Regions from separate parts of the Homo sapiens genome. Here region 1 is linked to region 2. The links are contacts of gene promoters, found by promoter capture Hi-C in blood cells and fetal thymus (Javierre and others, 2016). All regions are on one chromosome and are shown on one strand. Each heading gives the region's core, a stretch centred on a gene start or on the middle of the fragment in contact. The rest is flanking DNA. Distances are from core to core; before and after follow the strand shown.

Evidence for each region. Contacts are between HindIII fragments. The CHiCAGO score rates a contact against its expected background, and 5 or more counts as called.
Region 1: a contact is called between a fragment that was not itself captured here and the fragment with the promoter of RDH14 in region 2, in 2 of 17 cell types (activated CD4 T cells and M2 macrophages). The highest score is 7.9, in activated CD4 T cells.

The regions. Positions count from the first base shown.
Region 1 is chr2:19,841,866-19,846,187 of GRCh38, reverse strand. No RefSeq gene overlaps it. Among named protein-coding and RNA genes, the nearest start is that of LINC00954, 25 kb to the left of the region's middle. The HindIII fragment of the contact is 3,629 bases long and covers 972-4,322 here.
Region 2 is chr2:18,558,334-18,562,162 of GRCh38, reverse strand. RDH14 (retinol dehydrogenase 14) reads left to right here and starts at 1,510. Exons shown (of 2, transcript NM_020905.4): 1 at 1,510-1,983. The coding sequence starts at 1,591. All of the region lies in intron 10 of NT5C1B-RDH14 (NT5C1B-RDH14 readthrough), which reads left to right. LOC105373456 (a long non-coding RNA gene) reads right to left here and starts at 1,987. Exons shown (of 6, transcript XR_007086234.1): 1 at 1,472-1,987. RefSeq lists enhancers at 1,101-1,320, 1,331-1,380, 1,441-1,490, 2,301-2,350 and a silencer at 1,581-2,090. The HindIII fragment of the contact is 4,929 bases long and covers 731-3,829 here.

The DNA of each region.
Region 1 (4,322 bases), core at 1,537-4,036, 1.3 Mb before region 2:
CTTTGGTGTTCACAGTGTTGGGTATAGACTGAGCCCCACAGAGCCCTAGGAATCCTCTGCCAGCGAGGCTGTGTCCCCAGGACAGAGCTGATGTGCTGATTTGCAGCCTGTGAGTGGAATTGTGCTAGGCTGGATATGTGGGGTGCAGACACTCGTGGATGGGACAGAAGATATACTCAGGCAGGTCTCTGCCAGAACTCAGGAAATATGGCCTCTCATCAGCTCATAGAAAAGAATATTCTTATGAAGATCCTTTGGTGGAAAATACATTTTGGTGCTAGATTCCAGTGGGTTTATGCTTTTGCTGTCTTTCAGTGTGTGTAGCAAGAGCCTGTGCACAGATTCAACATCTAATTTACAAGGAGTTTGGAAGTCCAAGATGTTCTAGCTGTAGGCAGAGACTGAGCTCTCTGGATGTGCCTCTCCAGCATGCGGGGACCATTGCCTCTGTGTGTGTATGTGTGTGTGTGTGTGTGTGTGTGTGTGTGAGCACATGTGTGCCTGTGTGGGGAGATGACACCCATAGGGGGCTGGTTGTGTGTGGTCCTGCCCATATTCTTATCTATACCCTTGGGCACACATGTGTCCATCACACCTGGGTCCAGTGCCAAGACTTCCGTTCGGACTTTGGAGCCATGTGTGACCACATCTGTGCCATGTGTGATCCTCAGTAGAGCTTTCTTCTGGTTCAGTGGGGAGATTGTAACCCAGCAGGAACAGCGCCCTGGGGGTGGCTGCACAAGTGCTTCTGCTCTGGGGCCTCCCTCCTGGCCCCCTGCCAGCCCCAGTATGGAGGGGAAGGGGCTTTGAAAAGCTTCTCGCCTGTTAGCTGTCCAATATGCTTGAAAGGATACCAGCCTAATGAGTGAAGTTTTAGTAAATCAAGACCATGTGGTCAGCTCCCCCTTGAGATGCTCCTAGTTTAAGAAATTGGTGGGTGGGAAACATTTTTGGCAATCACCCCTGAAGCTTCTCTTATATCCTCTTTCTTTTTGCTCTTCAACCCCCAAATCCGAAAGAATCATATGGTTTATTTTTAAAACAGAAACAGCCCTGGATTGCCCGGTCTCCAGGGGCAAGAACATCTCTTCCCATCATTCAGGTCTAACCTGGGGACAGAAGGCAGCCCTGGTGTGAGGGACAGAGGCTTGGGGTCAGGGGTGGTGGAAGACGGGGCATCTTTTGTGCTCATAGTGGGCCAGATGACATGGGGAATCCCAGCGTTTGCCTGCAATGCCTTGGAAAGAGCAAGCTGGAGCCCAGAGAGGTGTGGGAATTGGCTCAAGGTCATCCAAGGAGGCAGCACCAGGGTTGGCTCCTTCGCCCATGCCTCCTGCTTCCAATTTGGGGTTCTTTCTATTGAGAAGTCTCAGATTTGAACGTTGGGGTGGGGTTTGAAGAAGAAAAATCTTAGAGAAAGAAGAGGAAAGACTTTAGATTATAGAAATGAGCAAGGGAATTCCGGGATGATGGGAGAGAGGAAAGTATGAAGGAGCAGGGGAATAAGCTCATCAAGAGTGAGAGAATTGTGTGATCAGAGCCCACAGGGCATGGCTGCAATGCAGTGAGTCAGGAGTGTTTGGATCAAGCCTGCCCCACATTGTAATTCCATAGAATGGCTGTTTCTGAGGGTAGGAAGCCTGCAGGGGTCTAAGGCCAGTGTTCCATGGCAGTTTATATTGCAGGGAGCCTTGGGGGCTGGCACTCAGGTTGGGGGAAATTGGTGTTGTCAGACAGATCTTGCCTTTGCTCCCCATCCAGGAATACACTTGAACTTGACTGTGGATTGGGCAGAACTGGCAGTGTGAACTTTCACACATTCCTGACCCTTGCTAAACTGTTCATGGCTCTCCAGCAAAGGCATGGGTGAGCAGGGGGAGCACCCTGGTCCCCTGGGCTTGAGTCTGAGCCCCACTACCTTCTCACCCAGTGACCACTGGCACATGTGTTCCCTCCCCCAGGCCTTCCTGTCCTCATCAGTGGGTGGTCTCAGCACTTCTTGCCCTTCTACCCATGGCGGGCCCCCTTGTTTGTGTGTTTAGCTCGCTCTTCTCTGTTCTTCTGGCAATAGTGCTCCCTTCTTCTCCATGGATGGCCTCTCCTCCATGTGAATTGAGTGCTCCTCATGGAGGCTGCCAGCTGTACTCACTCTCCTCCCAGCCCTGCTCATGATCAGAATGAGGTCAGTGGTCTCATCCCACTCCTCTGGCCACAGTCATTTTATAAGAGAATGTCAGGAAAGAACATGACCAAAATTGTTCCTGAACATATAAGACACCCACTGGTGAAATCTTCACTAAGAAATAAGAGAGAGAGACTTGGAGGGGTGCTGAGTCCATGTGCAGTGCATGGAAGCTAAGAGCCTCCATTGTGCTGTTGTTAATGTGACCAGATGTCAACCCATGGGCTGGTGGGGACTGAGAGGGTATTGAAATACAATAGGGTTGCATCTACTTGGTAACTTTTGCTCTCCAGGGAGAGAAATCCCAGCACAAACCAGGGTAAGCAAAAAGAGAACTTATCAACTCACTTCTCTTAAAAGGCAGAGGTTGGGCTGGTTTCAGGTGGCACTTCACTCAGTCAATGTCACCAGGGTCTAGCCTCTCTCTCGTCTCTCCCTCTTCCTCACCTTCAACTCCACTTCCTCTGGATTGACTCCATTTGGAGGCCAGATCCGTCTCTCAGGGTACTAAATGGCAGCCTTAGCTCCCAACCTGATATTCCCTCAGATTCAAGTCCAGCAGGAAATATTAATAGCAGCGGTCTCTTTCCCAGAAAATTCTGCCAGTGTCTCATTGCCTCTCATTATTTCTGACTGAGTCCCAAATTAATTGTTGTGACTGGGGAGCTGTGATAATCTAGTTGGTTTTTAGGCTTACATTATAGGCTCCAGCCCTAATTATGGTGAGAAGCTCCACCAAAACCTAGGATCTAAGAGTGGAGGAGAGAATACATTTATCAGCAGAAGGGTGAGTAGATCCTCAGAGGCAAAGGCCACAGGAGTCTCTCTCAGAGACCTTTAGCACTCAGCAAGCTGCCCACACCTCAGAGCCACTTTCACATTCTCTGTTCATCGTCATGGACACTGTAACTGCTATGAGGTGATTCAACACTTGGTTCCAGTGGGAAAAGGAATGACCATTAAAGAATGCCAAAAACTATTGCTGGAGATAGATGTATAGAGAAACTGGGTGGGTTAAGAAAATGAGCGTTTGAAGTTTTGGACAAATTAGAAGAAGGAATGTTGAATTCAGCAGGGACTCACTCCAATGGTGTAAATGAATTTACCAGGAGTTCTATAAGAAAACACCAGGCATCTCCTGAAACCATTTTAACAGCTTCTCTAATGGTTCAAAATGGCTCCCCAAATGAGAGAAAACTAATGGAAGTTGGAAAAACAGTTACCTGTGATTCAAGAGAAAGCCTGGATCTGGTACAAACATTTGAATTTCCTTGACTCTATAGTTCATAGACATCTAAGAGTGCATCGCTTATGGAAGTTAAGGGCCCACCCTTCTTTCTGCCTTTTCTGCTGCAGAAGCAGTCTTGGTATCACACAGGAACGTAGGAGACTGTGATTTTTGCATGTCCAGCACCTCGTTTTTCTACTTCAACAAGCAGCACCCCAGCTCTCCTTTGGGCGAAATCCCCTTCCCCCATGCTCATTTCATGCAGTTCAGGTGGGACCAGCAACCGACCCCCACCCACCTGTAAGCTGCTCCAGAGTGAACGTGTGACCCAGGGCTGGCCGATCTGCTTATTCCATCTCCCTGGTCACAGTAATTGGTTCAAGAATGGGCAGATGGCTCAAGTCAGTGAATCAGAATCAATCATGGAACTTCTATTGGAGCTATGAGGAAAGGGCCATGAGGGTGCTAAGCTGGTAGGATGTTCACTGAGAGCCACTGGTGGAAGCATTGCTACTTCAGACAGAGCCTGAGAATGAAGGCGACACAGAGACAAGCAGCGCCAAAGTTTGGTGAGAGATACGGTCCTGTCCACAGCTTCTGAGGGCCTGAATCAGCCATGCCTGAATTTAGACCTATCCCTAGAATTTTCAGATACAGTGAGTTCTGTGTGTGGGTTTCTCCTTCTCCTCCCTTTCCCCTCCCCTCCCCTCCCTCCTTCCCTTCCTTTCCTTTCCCTTCCCTTTCCTTCCCTTCCCTTCCCTTCCTTCTTTTTCCTCTTACCCACTCTTATTCTTCTTTCCTTCCCTCCTTTTTCCTCTTCTTCTCCCTTTTTTTCTTCTTCCTCCTCCTCCTTCAGCCAGTTTGATTCATTCATTTAATAGATATTCACTGAGTGACCATTATGTGTACCCT
Region 2 (3,829 bases), core at 261-2,760:
CCTGTGATTTTGATGGATGGGCAAGATGTGGATGGGTAGAAAGGACAATAAAGTGGAAACATATGCTGGGGGATCAATGAGTTTGAGTAGCAGCTTCAAATTGGGGATAGGGTGGTGTAGGACCACCTCTCATGATTCCTGTTCCTGGTGCCTTGTATAATCCCCAGTAAGAGTGCTCTTTCCCACCTCTGAGCTCCATTCTCATTACTCATAAGAAACCTCCTGGAATCCATCCCTTTTTCTTTGTATTCTGACTATTAGTTGCATGTTACATCCTTCCCAAATGTAAGGGAGTGGAAGATGGATTATCACAATTATTGGGGAGTTTGTCTCAAACGACACAAGCTGTGGTTCTTTTTCCTTGTCTGGAGAACCTGCAATGGGTGGAGGGTGGGAAGTGGGAGATCACAGTTCCAGAAAGTAAGCACCCTGAGAGCAGAAATGGTGTCCCATTTCTCTGTGGCTCTAACAGGGAACAGGCAGGGCCAGGCACATATTGGATGGAGAGGCAGACGAACGAATGAGTCTTTAAAAGTAGCTTGGTCTACAGCTATGAAGTTTGTAGCTTGAAGAAGGGTCCCTGTGACACTAACCCTGATATTAATGAGGCATTTTACAGTGAGCCAAGCACTTTGCCTTCCATCGTTGTGTGTAATAGTCCTATGGAGAGGGCAGGGAGGCATTTGTAAATGGCCTGCTCAGAAGCCTATATTTACAATAAGTCCAAGCTTTTCCCACTGTACCTCTGCCAGTGTGAAGATCATTTGAAGATGGCTTTCTTTTTTTTAATAGGGACCAATGACATAATGTCTTGTTCAGTGGTTCTCAAAGTGTGGTTCCCAGATCTGCAGCAGCAGCAGCACCTGGAAACTTGTTAAAAGTGCAAATTATCAGGCCCCATCCTGTACCTATTGAATTAGAAACTCTAATACTGGGGCCCTGGTTTTTTGTTTTCGTTTTGTTTCATTCCCCCACCCCGAACCCCCACCCCAAGTCCTCCAGGTGATTCTGATGTGCATTTAAGTTTGAGAACTACTCGACCATTCTATTTCCAACTGATTCATGTTGCTTAATTCTTTGTCTCATCTATGAAAAACAGTCCTACCTCAGACTTCAGCTTGTCAGGGCCCATTCCTCAGAAGGTGAATTGAACTGAATTTACAAGTCCCAAGAGCCCTCAAAGGAAAACACACGAAATGCCCTGAGGAGTGGCATTTGTAACAGGGCCTGTACAGAGATCTGTGATTCAAAGTACTCATCAGACATTCCCATGGGGAAGTCCGCCACTACTCTGGGATTTCAATACGTATGAACCCCAGCACCCTGAACACTGTGCTGGTTGCCCAGCCTCCATCATTAGGCTGGGAGGAGCTTCCACGGAGGGCGCAGGACCCAGGGCGCTGAACTCTCACAACCAATCAGGCGACCCCCCCAGAGGGAAACTACAAGTCCCAGCATGCCCCACGCGCACCGTCAGGGGCCGACCCGCCGCGCCCCAGCGTTCTCCGCGTACAGGTGGTCTCTTGGGTTCCGGTAAGGCGGCGGCTGCGGAACTCCCGTGGAGGGGCCGGTGGGCCCTCGGGCCTGACGATGGCAGTGGCCACTGCGGCGGCAGTACTGGCCGCTCTGGGCGGGGCGCTGTGGCTGGCGGCCCGCCGGTTCGTGGGGCCCAGGGTCCAGCGGCTGCGCAGAGGCGGGGACCCCGGCCTCATGCACGGGAAGACTGTGCTGATCACCGGGGCGAACAGCGGCCTGGGCCGCGCCACGGCCGCCGAGCTACTGCGCCTGGGAGCGCGGGTGATCATGGGCTGCCGGGACCGCGCGCGCGCCGAGGAGGCGGCGGGTCAGCTCCGCCGCGAGCTCCGCCAGGCCGCGGAGTGCGGCCCAGAGCCTGGCGTCAGCGGGGTGGGCGAGCTCATAGTCCGGGAGCTGGACCTCGCCTCGCTGCGCTCGGTGCGCGCCTTCTGCCAGGAAATGCTCCAGGTGTGGGCCTCGGGGGGCCGGGCTGGTGGGGAGGGCCTGGGCACGGTGTGGGAGGGGACTGCGGGCTGGGGCTGAGCCGCGAGGGACCGCCCTGGGGTTCAGGGTGTCACCTTGGGAACCGCTGAGGCTGAGAGGAGTCCAAAAAGCCACTTTGAGGCGGCCGGGAAGCTGCAGGGTTGAGAGGGAAAGAGAAACTAACTGGGAGGGCTGCCTTCTGTCCTCTAAGGATGTCGAAAAAGAAATGGGCCCAAGAGAAAAATAAATAAACCAGTTTCTGAACGTTTCATTTCGTTACGTGAGGACCGCCCCGAAGTAGATCCATGGCCTCTGAATTGTTTTTCCTGTGTCAGAAGTGAATTTGCACCAAGCTGTGTCTTCAGAACCCCTGAGCACTGGGGGAAGTTGCTAGCTAAGGACCTCATATCAGTCCTTTAAAAAAAGTTCTCCTTCCCCCGGCCTCTGCCCCTTTTCTGCTGGGGTAAGGAGCTCGCTGCCACCAGTAAACTCAGCACCATCCTTAACGGGACTGTGGCCTGATTTCCAAGTAGAATACATTTTGGAACCCAGTGGTCATGCTCCATACAGAGACAGGAATAAAAATAACACCCAGCATTATTGAAGATCTGTATGCCAGGAGCTGTGCCAAGCATTTCAGATTTTCCTTTTTGTCTTAAATGAAAATGAAGTGTCCTTGCCTATAACTGTCATTGAAGCTACACAGTAACCCTGTGGAGTAGGCATTATTATCATCCCTGTTTTACAACGCGAGGAAACTGAGGCATAGGAAGGCTAAGAAACTTGCTTGTGGTCTGTCTCCAGAACACTTGCTTTTAACCCTTGTTCTTTCCTCCTGCTGCCTGGCAGTGAGGTGTGAGGATTTCTTTGTGCAAATGGTAAGTAATTCCACATAAGTGGATGTTCTCCGTTGAGATTGAGGTAGAAGAGTTTCTTGCAGGGATAACTGGCATTCAGAGGGCATTTGTTCAGAAGAGTGAAATTTAAAATTAGCTGGGACAAGAAAGGTGCCTATATGACGTAGAGTCTCTTGAGTCTAGAGAAGAGGTTCCCAAATTTTCTCAGTAATTTTTTCATGATGCCCTTAGGCCAGAAATATTTCCCAGTTCATTTATTTAGAAAGTTTATTTTGCCAAGGTTAAGGATGCACCCGTGGCAGAACCTCAGGCGGTCCTGAGGACATGTGCCCAAGGTGGTCGGGGCACAGCTTGGTTTTATACATTTTAGGGAGACATGAGACATCAATCACATATGTAAGGTATACATTGGTTCTCCTGGAAAAGTGGGACAACTCGAAGTGGGGGCTTCCAGGTCATAGGTAGATGGGAGACAAAAGGTTGCATTCTTTTGGGTCTTTGATTAGCCTTTTACTGAATACAATTTACATGTGCAGGAGGGATAGAGGAATAATCACTTATGTCTTAGACTGGCTCAGTGAGTCTGCATTTTCACATAAACAATACGGCAGAGTCAGCAATCAGATAAGCATTTATCTCAGGTGAGCAGAAGGATGACTTTAGAGTTCTGTCTTTTGTTTGGCACTTGTGAAGATGAGCTATCAATTTATGAATACATTGCCAGGGTGAAATTCAACAGAAGTGTTTTAGGGTAAAGATCTTGAGGCCCATGTGGGCAAATTATGAGGGTGATATGTAGCTTCTTTTTCTTTGTAGCTATCTTATTTAGGAATAAAATGGGAGGCAGGTTTGTCTGAGGCAGTTCCCAGCTTGACTTTAACCTTTGACTTAGTGATTTTGGGTTCTGAGATTTATTTTCCTTTGACACAACCTAATAAGTAGTTATGTCCTAACAACTTAGTAGCTATTTGAGA